Linked DNA regions of Homo sapiens: region 2 is linked to region 1. Evidence: promoter capture Hi-C in human tissues and cell types (Jung and others, 2019). All regions are on one chromosome and are shown on one strand. Each heading gives the region's core, a stretch centred on a gene start or on the middle of the fragment in contact. The rest is flanking DNA. Distances are from core to core; before and after follow the strand shown.

Evidence for each region. The method cuts DNA at HindIII sites, captures the fragments that hold promoters and counts their contacts. A contact is called where the count stands out against the background at its distance.
Region 2: a contact is called between a fragment that was not itself captured here and the fragment with the promoter of ANO1 in region 1, in 3 of the 25 tissues and cell types used here (IMR-90 fibroblasts, stomach and thymus).

Annotation. Positions count from the first base shown.
Region 1 is chr11:70,074,269-70,079,663 of GRCh38, reverse strand. It overlaps ANO1 (anoctamin 1), which reads right to left and starts at 1,347. Exons shown (of 26, transcript NM_018043.7): 1 at 950-1,347. The coding sequence starts at 1,057. LINC02584 (long intergenic non-protein coding RNA 2584) reads left to right here and starts at 4,316. Exons shown (of 3, transcript NR_103835.1): 1 at 4,316-4,342; 2 at 4,458-4,728. It also overlaps the pseudogene RNU6-1175P. The HindIII fragment of the contact is 18,532 bases long and covers 1-5,395 here.
Region 2 is chr11:70,021,559-70,027,634 of GRCh38, reverse strand. It overlaps a transcript of ANO1 not described here. Among named protein-coding and RNA genes, the nearest start is that of LINC02753, 41 kb to the left of the region's middle. RefSeq lists a silencer at 1,726-2,124. The HindIII fragment of the contact is 5,891 bases long and covers 1,736-6,076 here.

The DNA of each region.
Region 1 (5,395 bases), core at 98-2,597:
GGAAGAAGGTAGAAGGGAGCTTCTGTCCTTAGGTCCCACAAATTGCTGCTGAGAGCTTCCCTCACCCCAAGAGGAGATAGCCAGTCCCAGCCCTGTCCTATCCTCTTCCGGCAAACTTTGTCCTTCAAGCCAAACCCTTCCTGGGAGAATTCTGCCCCCCTCTCTAAAACATAGGGTTACCTAGACCTCTGGGTCTGGCCCTGGGGAGGGTGGTGGGGATATTGGGGACCTCAGGATGGGGTCCCCAACTTACATGACTGGCTTCCAACCAGTGCCCCCACCTGAACCAGGCCTGGGCGCCCAGGGGAGACAGGGGCGAGGGTAGAAAGCAATCTCCAATGATTGACACCCTGGGCTTTGAGAGTTTCGGTGCCAATGCCAGGGTACCAGGCCCAGTGCCCTGGGCACAATATGCGTTTCTGGCAAGTGAGGACTCGGGACTCTGGCCCCAGAGGATAGTGAAGCAGTGGGGCCTGGCAGTTACCATCATCGTGGAGTGGCGACCAACTTGGCCTTCACCCAAGACCCCCACCATCACCCTCACCCTGGCTGCCCCAACAGGTACCCCTGGCCGCGAGCCAGGAAGGGAAGGTCCCATCCAGGGCGCCAGCCGTGAGCTCTTGGTTGGGCTCCGAGCTGCAGCCCCGGGTGAGGCGGCTTCGGGGCCGCAGAGCTCCGAGGCCGGGCCATGCCTGGGGGCCCGGCGCTGCGCTGGGCGGAGTGGGCGCCGCGCTCGGAACGCTCAGAGCGCAGGCGGGGCGCACGCACTTGGCCAGGGCCGGCGCGCCCTTCCCGGCACGCACGTGCGCGGGTGGGCGCCGCGAACCCTGCGCGGAGGGTGCGGCCCCCGCCCTGGGGTCCCAGGAGGCCCTGCCGCCGCCCGGTTCCCGCCCTCGCCAAGGCGCAGGTGCGCGGCCCTCCCGCCCGGGTCGCGGCCGCCCGCACTCACCGTGCCCTCGGACGGCAGGTAGCCGATGTCCTCGATGGCGCAGATGTTGATGATGTGGACGCTGCGGTCCTCGGCCGGGAGCGTCGAGTACTTCTCGTTGACCCTCATCGTGGCCGCCTGTGCGCTGGGACCGCCGGGCGGCGCGCCCTCCCCATCCACGGCCCCGGCGGCCTCTGCGGGCGGAGACCGCAGCGTTCGCGGCGCGCTCGCAGGGGGCCGGGCCTCCCCGCGCCCAGGCCCGCCGGGGACGTGGCCGCCTCCCGCTCCGCCCGCCGCCCTGGCCCGCCCGGCCCGCGCGCTCGATGCGGGGGGCGCCTGAGCCTCTCGGGGCCGATCGCGCCGCCACCCGGCTGCTGGTCCCGCGGGCCGGCCCGCGCCTGGTCAGGAACTTGGACGCCAGCCGGCCCGCCTTTGCCTTAAAGATATAAGCGCTCTCCGCCCGCCTATGGCAGGGGCGGTGGCCGCGCCGGTCAGATTTTCCGTAGAAATTTAAACACAGGAAGAAAAAGTATTCCATTCCTGCGGGCCCCTCCAAGTTTTATTTTTATCCAGGGAAAGTGCCCCTTTGGATTTTTGAGGGTTTTCATACCGGGTGTGAAAGGGGGGAACTTTCAATAGCCCCACCTGAAATAAAGTCCCCGAGTGGCAGGCGCTTCTGTGGCGCGTCACCTCCGCCTCCGGGGGGAGTGAAGCTTCTGAGATTGGAGTCTGGATCTCTGCCCCTTTCCCTCCACCCTGGCAAACTCCTGCTGTCACTCAGCACTCACCTCCTCCGGGGAGCTTGCCTGGTTCCTGCCGACCCGCCCCCTCCAGCTGCCCGCGCTCCTGGGGGAGTCTCTCCCGGGGCAGTCATCTCCCTGGAGCCCACTGATGTTACCGGTGCCCCCGAGTTTACGGAGTGCTTAGTGTTCTGTGCCCAGGTGCGTGCAGCGTCCCTGATGTAGGGCGTGAGTGTGTATCATCTCATTTAACCCCGCACCTGCAAGGTTGGAATGCGGGTCCTCATTTTGCAGAGGACACTCAGGCTTAGGAGGGCCAAGGACCAGTCCGCATCCTCTGAGGTGGGGCGGGGCTCCTGCAGAGCTTTCCCCACTGCTGGGCAAGGCTGTCCTGCTTTCTGGAGGGGCGGAGCGGGGGGGATGGTGGCTTTGATCTCTCTTACCCCCGGACCTAGCAGGGGTCTGGCACACTGCAGATCTTCAAGTCTTCTTCCCCTAAGGAGAATAAGGCAGGTCCCCAGGGGACGACCATACTCAGGTTAAGCCCCAGGGGCCATGCTGGCCACCACATCCAGTGGAAATAAAGTGTCCCTCTGCCTCTCACATCCTATGAGTTCTTCACGGTGTGCATCAGATAGCACCTCCTGCAGGAAGTCCTGCTGGATTCTCCCCTACTGTCCCCTTCCCACCCAAATATGCAGGCCTTCCTGTCTATCCAAAGAACCTGCCTGAACCCCAACTAGCACTTCATTTATTCCGTCTCATTTTACAGTGGGTTGTCTACCAGGTTCACACAGCCGATGCTCAATAATTGCTTGTTAAATGGCCACTGGGGAACATTCAAGGCCTACAGAAGTGATTAGAAAATTGTCTTTAAAGGCCACGATGTCGTCAGCGTGCCATGGTTCCAAGCATGGAACCTGGAGTCAGCTAGGATAGGGTTGGAGAGAAGGGGTGGGGTCTAGCTCCAGCTCTGGCACCTTCCAGCCTTGTGACCTTGTGCCAGCCTCCTTGGCCTCAGAGCCTCCTGGGCCTCAGAGCCTCTGCCTTCTCATGGGAGTTTTAAGCGTGCCTGAAGCTGCCAGGCTTAGCAATGGTGACTGTTGTCACTACTAATGTCATCTTGTCATGACCTACCCTTTCCTGGTGCCTCAGTGAGACTCTCCCATTTAGGCACAAGTCTGTGACTTCCTTGAACTTGGGGCGGTGCAGGAAGGCTATTTGGTTCTCAGGCTGGTGGTGCCAACGGGCACTGAGTGGCCCTAAAGGACCCTTTGTCTGCACCTTGGACAGCGAGAGAGGGTTTGGAGAAGTGCCCCAGGCTGGCCAAATCCATGCCAGGAACAGTGCTCCACAGCCTCTGCTCCTTAAAAGTTCAAGTGTCCAGGGCTGGGAGAATCCCACACGCATGTACAGAGGATTATGTAACTCCATCCACTTATCTTTGTTGGTAAACAACCAACATTGTGTAATACTAATGTACTGTCTTTTCAAATTTGTGTTCGAGTGCCAACAGACCTTCCAGAGCTCTATGAGGTGCAGTTTGCATGAAAAAAAAAAAAGAGTAAAAATATACTTGGCCAAATCTGGACACACTGGTGCTCCCAAAGGTTTGGGAAGTGACATTTCTGGCCTGAGAGGGCTCTGGGGCTTGGGGGCTGCCTGCTGGGGGGCCATCTCCTAGGCAAGGTGGCCCCACCTTCTCCCCAACAGCACCCCTTGCGGCTTTACTCAAGAAACAGTGCTTAACCTCTAGTTTCTGTGATTTATACTGTAGCCAGGCTCAGGGCATCTGCTTGCCTGTAAGACTCCACTTTCTTTGCTATTGCCACTATGTTTCTTTTTTTCTCTCCAGTATCCCCACATTCTGTTTCCTCTCGCCCCTTCCCCAAGTCTTCCCAGGTGGACAGTGTGGACATGCCACAGCAAGGGCAGAGGAAATGCAGCGTGGCCTCTGTGCAGCAAGGGCCAGAGAGGACCAGTTCTGCCTCCAGGCCTCTCGTGGCCTTCGCCGGGGGTTCGTGGGTCTAGGGATTTCAGGGACCGACACAAAGTAAAAACAATAGCCCCCCAAAATAGGAGCGGGAAAAGAATTCCTGTAGCTGGAGATATCTCCCAAGCCAGGACAAGTTTACAGGGTCCTTTTTGTTCCATAGATGGTTCTCTTCTCTGGTTCCCTGTCCCCGCCTGTGTCCTATGGGTCACTTTGCTGGGATTCTCTCTCCACTCCAGTCACTAACTGCTTATACGTGGGGGCTCTCCATAAACTGTTGCACCCAGTTTTCTTTTTGTCTCAGTGATTTTTATCACTAAAACCCCACAGGGACAGATTTTGTGGGCAGGATTAATTCCCTGCTCATGAATTAGTAAAACCCTTGTCTAATTCGTCTAGATGGTGCATTTCATTATGGGAAGCTCCGGGCCTCCCAGCTGGCCTGTTTGGCCACAGTGTTGCTCTTCAGTGTCATTTGATGGCATGTGCCAACAGATACAGGTACAGGTGTCTTTGCTGATTTTTTTTTTTTTTTAAATATGGAATGCTTCATGAATTTGCGTGTCATCTTTGCGCAGGGGCCATACTAATCTTCTCTGTATCATTCCAATTTTAGTATACGTGCTGCCGAAGCGAGCACTTTGCGGACATTTTAATAGTCACCGGGGATGCAAGCATCAGGTGACAAGGAGCGCAGACCAACAAGCTGTCAGGAGGGTGGCTTCCTGGTAGGAGGCAGCACAGGGGAGCCCTTTTCAACGATATTTTATTTCCATCCCGTTGGCATTGCCCACAGGGAAGAATACCTCAGAGCACGGGCCAAGCTGTCTGCAACTCAGTGGGAAGTTGAACAAACCAAACTTTACAAAGGGAGGAAGAACGAGGTGCCCCAAATTATGGAGACACAGGGACTGGTTACCAAGACCATGGACCGGAACAAGAACCTCGCTCCCCATTAACCAACCGCATGGCCTTGGTGTGCCTAGATTTCCTCTTTTGTAAAGTGAGGCTGAAGTGTCTCCCTTTGGATGGTAGGCGAGGACCAAGAGGCCCAGCGCCTGGCGGTGGTGAGTCCAGGCCAGGGAGGCAAAGGTCTCTTCTAATAAAGGAGCTCTAGCGTGGGGCACAGTGGATGTCTCAGCACAGTGGATGTGTGGGGCTGGATCATCCTCTGTGGTGGGAGCTGGCTTGTGCAGTGTGGGACATTTTGCAGGCACCCTGGTGACCTCTACCCACCCATGAGATGCCAGCAGCACCCTCTGCCTCCAGCCCCAGTGTGACAACTAAAAATGTTTCTTGATGTTGTCAAATATCCTCCAGGGGACAAAACCAGCCCCAGTTGAGCACCACTGCTCTCAGATTTCTCAGCAGCCCTCACCTGCATGTCAACTGGACCTGGGGGGGCCAGCTTTATCAGTCCCCATTTCACAGGTGCACACACCTGGAGAGGTGATGTACTTGGCTTAAGGTCAGGCAGGAGAGCAAACTAGGCTTTCAGTCTAGCTCTCCTGACCCCCACCCCTCAAACCAGAGCTCACTCCATGAATTCAACACACAATCTAGAATTAGAGAGGTGGCAGAAAGGAGATTGGGTTTCTTTTTACAAAATAGAAATACACAGGTGCCCAGGGTTGCCCTCCATTGGTAGAGGTCGTGGCACCCACACAGCCCGGGTGCACTGAGCTTGCCCTGCCCCTCGGTTGGCCCAGTACAAATCTCTGCATTCAGAGGGGT
Region 2 (6,076 bases), core at 3,432-5,931, 55 kb after region 1:
GACTGCGGACCTACTGTGTGCGAGATCCTGTTCCACATGCTGGGGGAAAACAGAGTCCCCACCTCCATGTGGCTTAAGTGTTTGCAGTTTGATGAATGAAAAGCCATCCAACCCAGATGGGCCCTGGCTTGCGGTAGTTCCGCTGAGGATTATTCAACTTTACAAATGTGTCAAAGCACGAAAGCGAGACACCTTCAGTAGAAACTGTACCTCGGGTACCCACACAAACATTCTGTTTTTCACTTCCAGTATTCAATAAGTTACATGAGCTAGTCAGCATTTTATTATAATATAGGCTTTGTGTGAGATGATTCTGCCCGGCTGTAGGCTAATGTAAGCATTTGGAGCACGGTAAGGTGGGCTGGGCTAAGCTAGGATGTTTGGTGGGTTAGGCATACTCAATGCATTTTTGACTCAACAATATTTTCAACTTACAATGAGTTTATTGAGCTGTAACCCCATCATAAGTTAAAAAGAATCTACATATGGTTTGTCTGGGAGTGATGAGTACCGTGAAGAGAGACGAAGCAGGCAAAGTGCATAGAAAGTGTCCAGTGGAGTGTGTTGCTGTCATCCTGAGGAGGACTTAGGACACACCTGACTGAGGAGGTCACATTTGAGCAGAGAGACTTGAATGAGGGGAGGCCATGAGTTTCATGGATACAGGGGAAAAGTGTCCCAGGAAGAGGCAGCAGCAAGTGCAAAGGCCCTGGGGTGGAAACACACCTGGTGTTTGAGGACCTGGTGTTAAGGTGGCCAGTGTGGGTGGTGGTGAGTGAAAGGCAAACGCCCTGGGATGTGAGGTCAGCACAGTGGCAGTGCCAGACCAGGCAGGGCCTTTGGAGAGTCGAGAGCTGGGGAGGTGCAGGATCCGCAGCTCAGAAAGGCTCAGCACTTGGTAAGAAGCCTGGAACAGAACTCTGATTCAAGGTCTGTGTGCTCATTGCAACCTCCTGACTACAGTGTGTTTCATCAATTTGAGAAAGTGACCCTGGTCTCTTGAATGATGGCAGCAAGGGTGATATCAGTCGCCACTACCACCACCACCACCATCATCATTACTGTTGTCATCATCATTATTGTCATTTTTATCATCATCATTGTCATCACCACCACCATCACTATCATCATCATCATTGTCACCAGCATCACCACCACCACCATCTTCACCATCATCACCATTGTCATCACCACCACCACCATCATCATTATTACTGTTGTCATCATCATTATTGTTGTCATTTTTATCATCATCATTGTCATCACCACCACCACCATCACCGTCACCACCACCACCACCACCACCACCATCATCAATGCCATCATTACCACTACCACCATCATTATGATCACTGTCATCACCACCTCCATCATCATCATCATTGTCATCACCACCACCATCATTACTGTCATCATCACCATCAGCACCATCACCACCACCATCATCATCATCACCACCACCACCATCATCACCATCATCATCATCACTGTCATCACCACTACCACCAGCACCATCGTCATCATCACCACCACCACCGTCATCATCATCATCATCATCACCACCACCACATCATCATCACCACCACCACCATCATCACCATCATCATCACCATCACCACCACCATCATCATCATCATCATCACCACCACTACCACCATCGTCACCATCATCATCATCACTGTCATCACCACTACCACCAGCACCATCATCATCGTCACCACCACCACCATCATCATCATCATCACCATCATCACCACCACCATCATCATCATCACCATCACCACCACCATCATCATCATCACCACCACCATCATCATCACCATCATCATCATCACTGTCAACACCACTACCACCAGCACCATCATCATCGTCACCACCACCACCATCATCATCATCATCACCATCACCACCACCATCATCATCACCATCACCACCACCATCATCATCGTCACCACCACCACCATCATTATTGTCATCATCACAATCACCACCACCACCATCATCAACACCATCATCACCACCATCATTATCATCATCATCACTGTCATCACTACCTCCATCATCATCATCATCATTGTCATCACCATCACCACTATCATTACTGTCATCATCACAATCACCACCACCATCATCGCCATCATTGTCATCACCTCCATCACCACCATCACCATCATCATCATCATCTTCACTGTCATCACCATTACCATCAGCACCATCGTCATCATTGTCACCACCACCACCATCATTATTCTCATCATCACAATCACCACCACCACCATCATTATCATGATCATGATTGCAGCAGACACCAGTTCTTCCTTCATAACAGGCATAGTGCTAAGGTGTTGGATGCTACTGTCTAACCCTCACTACCACCTTATAAGTTGTACATTCTGTCACATGCCCTTGTTTGGATGAGAAGTCTGAGGACCAGAGAGGTGAAGTAACTTGCCCAACGTCATCCAGCTGGCAAGGAGAAGAGCTGGGCATGGAATTCAGATCTGAGGCCAAAGCTGTGTTCTGAGGCACAGCTCCAGCCCATGTGGTTTCCTGAACAGCCATGGAAGGCTTTTATTTTCATTTTCTTGTCCATCTTTTTTCCTCCAACTGAGACCCTCAGATGCTCAGATGTCACTGGAGCCCAGCATTTCAGCACCAAGTCCTTGCAGCTGTCTGTCCCACCCCACAACTCCCTGGCTCAACAGAGCTTCCCTGCTGCCCTTGGAGTGTGCCTGTGTGGTCCCTGTCTCACAAGCTCATAGTCAATAGGAGAAGCAGACAAGTCTATCTATGTGCCCCCCTGCTAGGCCCAGGTCCTCCTTTCAGGGGAGGCAGCTCGGGCGGTGGGATCCGCCTATGTCTGTCCAGGCTGTCAGCGGGGCTTTGTGCCTGGTGACCATCCAGACAGAGGCAGCTCTGCAAGCTGCTGAGAGTGGTGGTGGTGGCGAAGAACTTGGGAGCCCGAGTCAAAATCAAGGTCTCTGAGCCCGAGTTTCCCCATCTGTGAACTGGGGAGAGGGCCACAAACTCCAGCTTCCCAGGGGTATTGCAAGGATGAAAGCAGACGGTGCCCAGGGAGCCCTTGGCACAGTGCCAAGCCCATCACTGGCATAAGAAACCTTAGCTGGGACCACTCTTTGGGCCACTGTCTGAAGCTCCGTTGAGAAGAGCTATTCTCTGCAGGGGAAGCAGGTCTAGCGGGCGAATGTCTTCTGCCCGGCACTCACTCCCTCCCTTGTGCCGTTCTTGTCCTGGTTTTCCTTAAGGAAACACCACTGCCCCCTTTCAGCCCATGTGGTTTATGGGCTATGTGTCCCCCCGCTCCAGATGGTCTCAGGGATCTGCTAGTGGGTACACACAGCTAAGCATCCCCCAGGCCATTGCGACTCATTTAGGGAGGGTCAAAGACCTCAGGCAGGACCGTCAGAGATAGCCTTGGGCTCCCTGCTGGAGTGCCCAGGGGCAAGCTCTCTGTCCACTGGGGCTGCCCAAGGTGAAAGCCAGGAGCTGTGCCTGCCATCTGGACACTAAGAGAGTAGTCCTGAGGGTGGACCCAACCCAAAGAACAGCAGAGCCAAGAGGAGGAGAGAGATGGAGATTTGGAAACATTAGACCCCCGGATTCAGCTATGTCTGAAGCTGGTCTTGGGTTTTCTGTCTTTTACAACCCAAGCAATCCTGGATAGTATTGGTAGGTTGCAGTGAACCACCTGCATTTTCTCGACAAGACTTTGGTAAACTTGAAATCCCTGAAATGTAAAGCACAGAGCAACTACAGGCCAGTCTTCTTCCCCATCCTCTTCTCACCACTCTTTTCTTTCTTTGATTCTTGGCCCACACATGGCTGGGATAAAGACACACACTCCTATGCAGATGCTGGGAAGGAAAGGTACATTAACATGGCCTTTATTGTTTAACCATCTACTGATGGTTTAAATATTTGGCATTTCTTAAAAGAAACAGATCTTCCCCAATGGGCAGCCTTGCAGTGTGAGCATGAGGCTACAACTCCTAAACCAGGACAGAACAAAAGCCAACTTCCCTAAGCCCTGATGTTGGCAGCGACTAGACCATCTCAGTACTGGGCCGAATCTCACCCCTAGAAGTAAAGAAAGTGCCCCTACTCCCACCCAAAATGCTCCATGGTCATCTACATTTGGGGAAGGCTATATTCTGCACTGTTGGACATTCATTGTGTTGGCATCTAAGAAGCCTCTGACAAGACGTGCCATGAACAAATCCACTAGACATGGTTTAGCCTGGGATCTCCCAAATGGCGAGCTCTGGAGGGCAGAGACTGAGTCTGACTTATACATGGCCATGCTCCTGCTAAATGGAGTCAATGCGGAAAGGTGCAGGCACTAACACATGCCGGTCCAACAATGATTAAGCCTCAGAGCCATGGCATGCATTTCCCCTCATCTCCCAGCGCACGAGTTTCCCACTGTGCAGCGGGAGATCAACAAAGCTTAGTGGCTTAAAACAGCACATGATTATTATCTTAAATTCCAGAAGTCCGGCATGGATCTCACTGGGCTAAAGCTAAGGTGTCAGCAGGGCTGTTCCTTCTGGAGGTTCCAGGGAGAGCTTGTTTCCTTGCCTTCTCCAGCTTCTAGAGGCCACCTGCAGTCCTTGCCTTGTGGCCCCTGCCTCCATCTCAAGCTGGCAGTGCATCCCTCTGACCTCTGTTTCTGTCCTCATGTCTTCCCCGACTCTGCTTCCCCTGCCTCCTCTTACTTATAAGCTCCCTGTGATGATGTTGGGCCCACCAGATAGTCTGGGGCTATCTCCCTGCCTCAAGGTCAGCTGATTAGCAGCCTTGATTCCATCTACAGCCTTAACTCCTCCTTGAAGTGTAATAAAAGAGATTCACGGGTTCTGGGGATCAGGACACAGACATCTTTGGGGGTCGTGATTCTGCTTGCCACACCCACTAAGTGAACACACTCAAATTTGGGGGAAAGCAAGCTAGGTGAGGCTGGCTCTATGGGGCCATCAGTGGCTTCACTCTTGCATTCTTTTTTTTTTTTGAGATGGAGTCTCACTCTGTTGCCAAGGCTGGAGTACAGTGGCATGATCTCGGCTCACTGCAACCTCCATCTCCCGTCTCCCAGGCTTGAGCAATTCATCTGCCTCAGCCTCCCAAGTAGCTGGGACTAGAGGCACCTGCCACCACGTCCGGCTAATTTTTGTATTTTTGGTAGAGACGGGGTTTCACCATGTTGGCCAGGTTGGTCTTGAACTCCTGACCTCACGTGATCCACTTGCCTCGGCCTCCCAAAGTGCTGGGATGACAGGCGTGAGCCACCACACCCGGCTTCCATTCAGTAAGTCCTTATTGAGCACCTACTGTGTGCCAGAACCTTGATGTGTGCTGAGGTCCAGAGTCGTGAAGAGGCCATACCAAGACCCTACCTTCATGGGGTCTTTTGGTTAAAATAGAGGCAAAAGCAGACAGATGAATCCAAGTTGAATAAGTCCCAGAGGGTGAGTTGGGCCTTCCATGGGCCTGTCTCGGAAAGCATTTTTTCCTCTGGGATTTCTGCCCAACGTGAGATGTCAAAGCGGCAGGAAGTGGAGCAAGGAGGGAAGGGGCCCAACCCCAGGGAGAAGCAGGACTCTCTCAGTTTGGGTCTGATCTGAGCACACAGCAGCACACCTTATGCTTGGTTTCGTCTGCTCCTTTTTTTGGACATTCTGGTCTTTGGGGGAACAAGTTCTTGTGTGACAGCAGCTCAGTTTTAAAATACTCTGCGCACTCTTTGGGATTCAGTTCGCACGCTCCTGCCTGTGAATGTCACAGGCAGTGGGATGTGAAGGGGCTCCTGGCAGGGCAGTGGACACAGAGGGATGAGTTTACAGGGCTCTGGCTTCAGTCTCTGGAGCCTTCCTGGGCAAGAGCCTGGCTCCCGAGGCCTTGCCCAGCCTTGGGCTGATGTTTAACAAATGTCACCGCTGGAATTTCTCAGACGATCGACATGGGAAAAACCGAGGAAGAGAGGGACCAGGAAGTGGATGCATTAAAAATAATGAGGCCGCTTTAAATGGACCAGGTTCCGGGGGACAATGGGAACCAC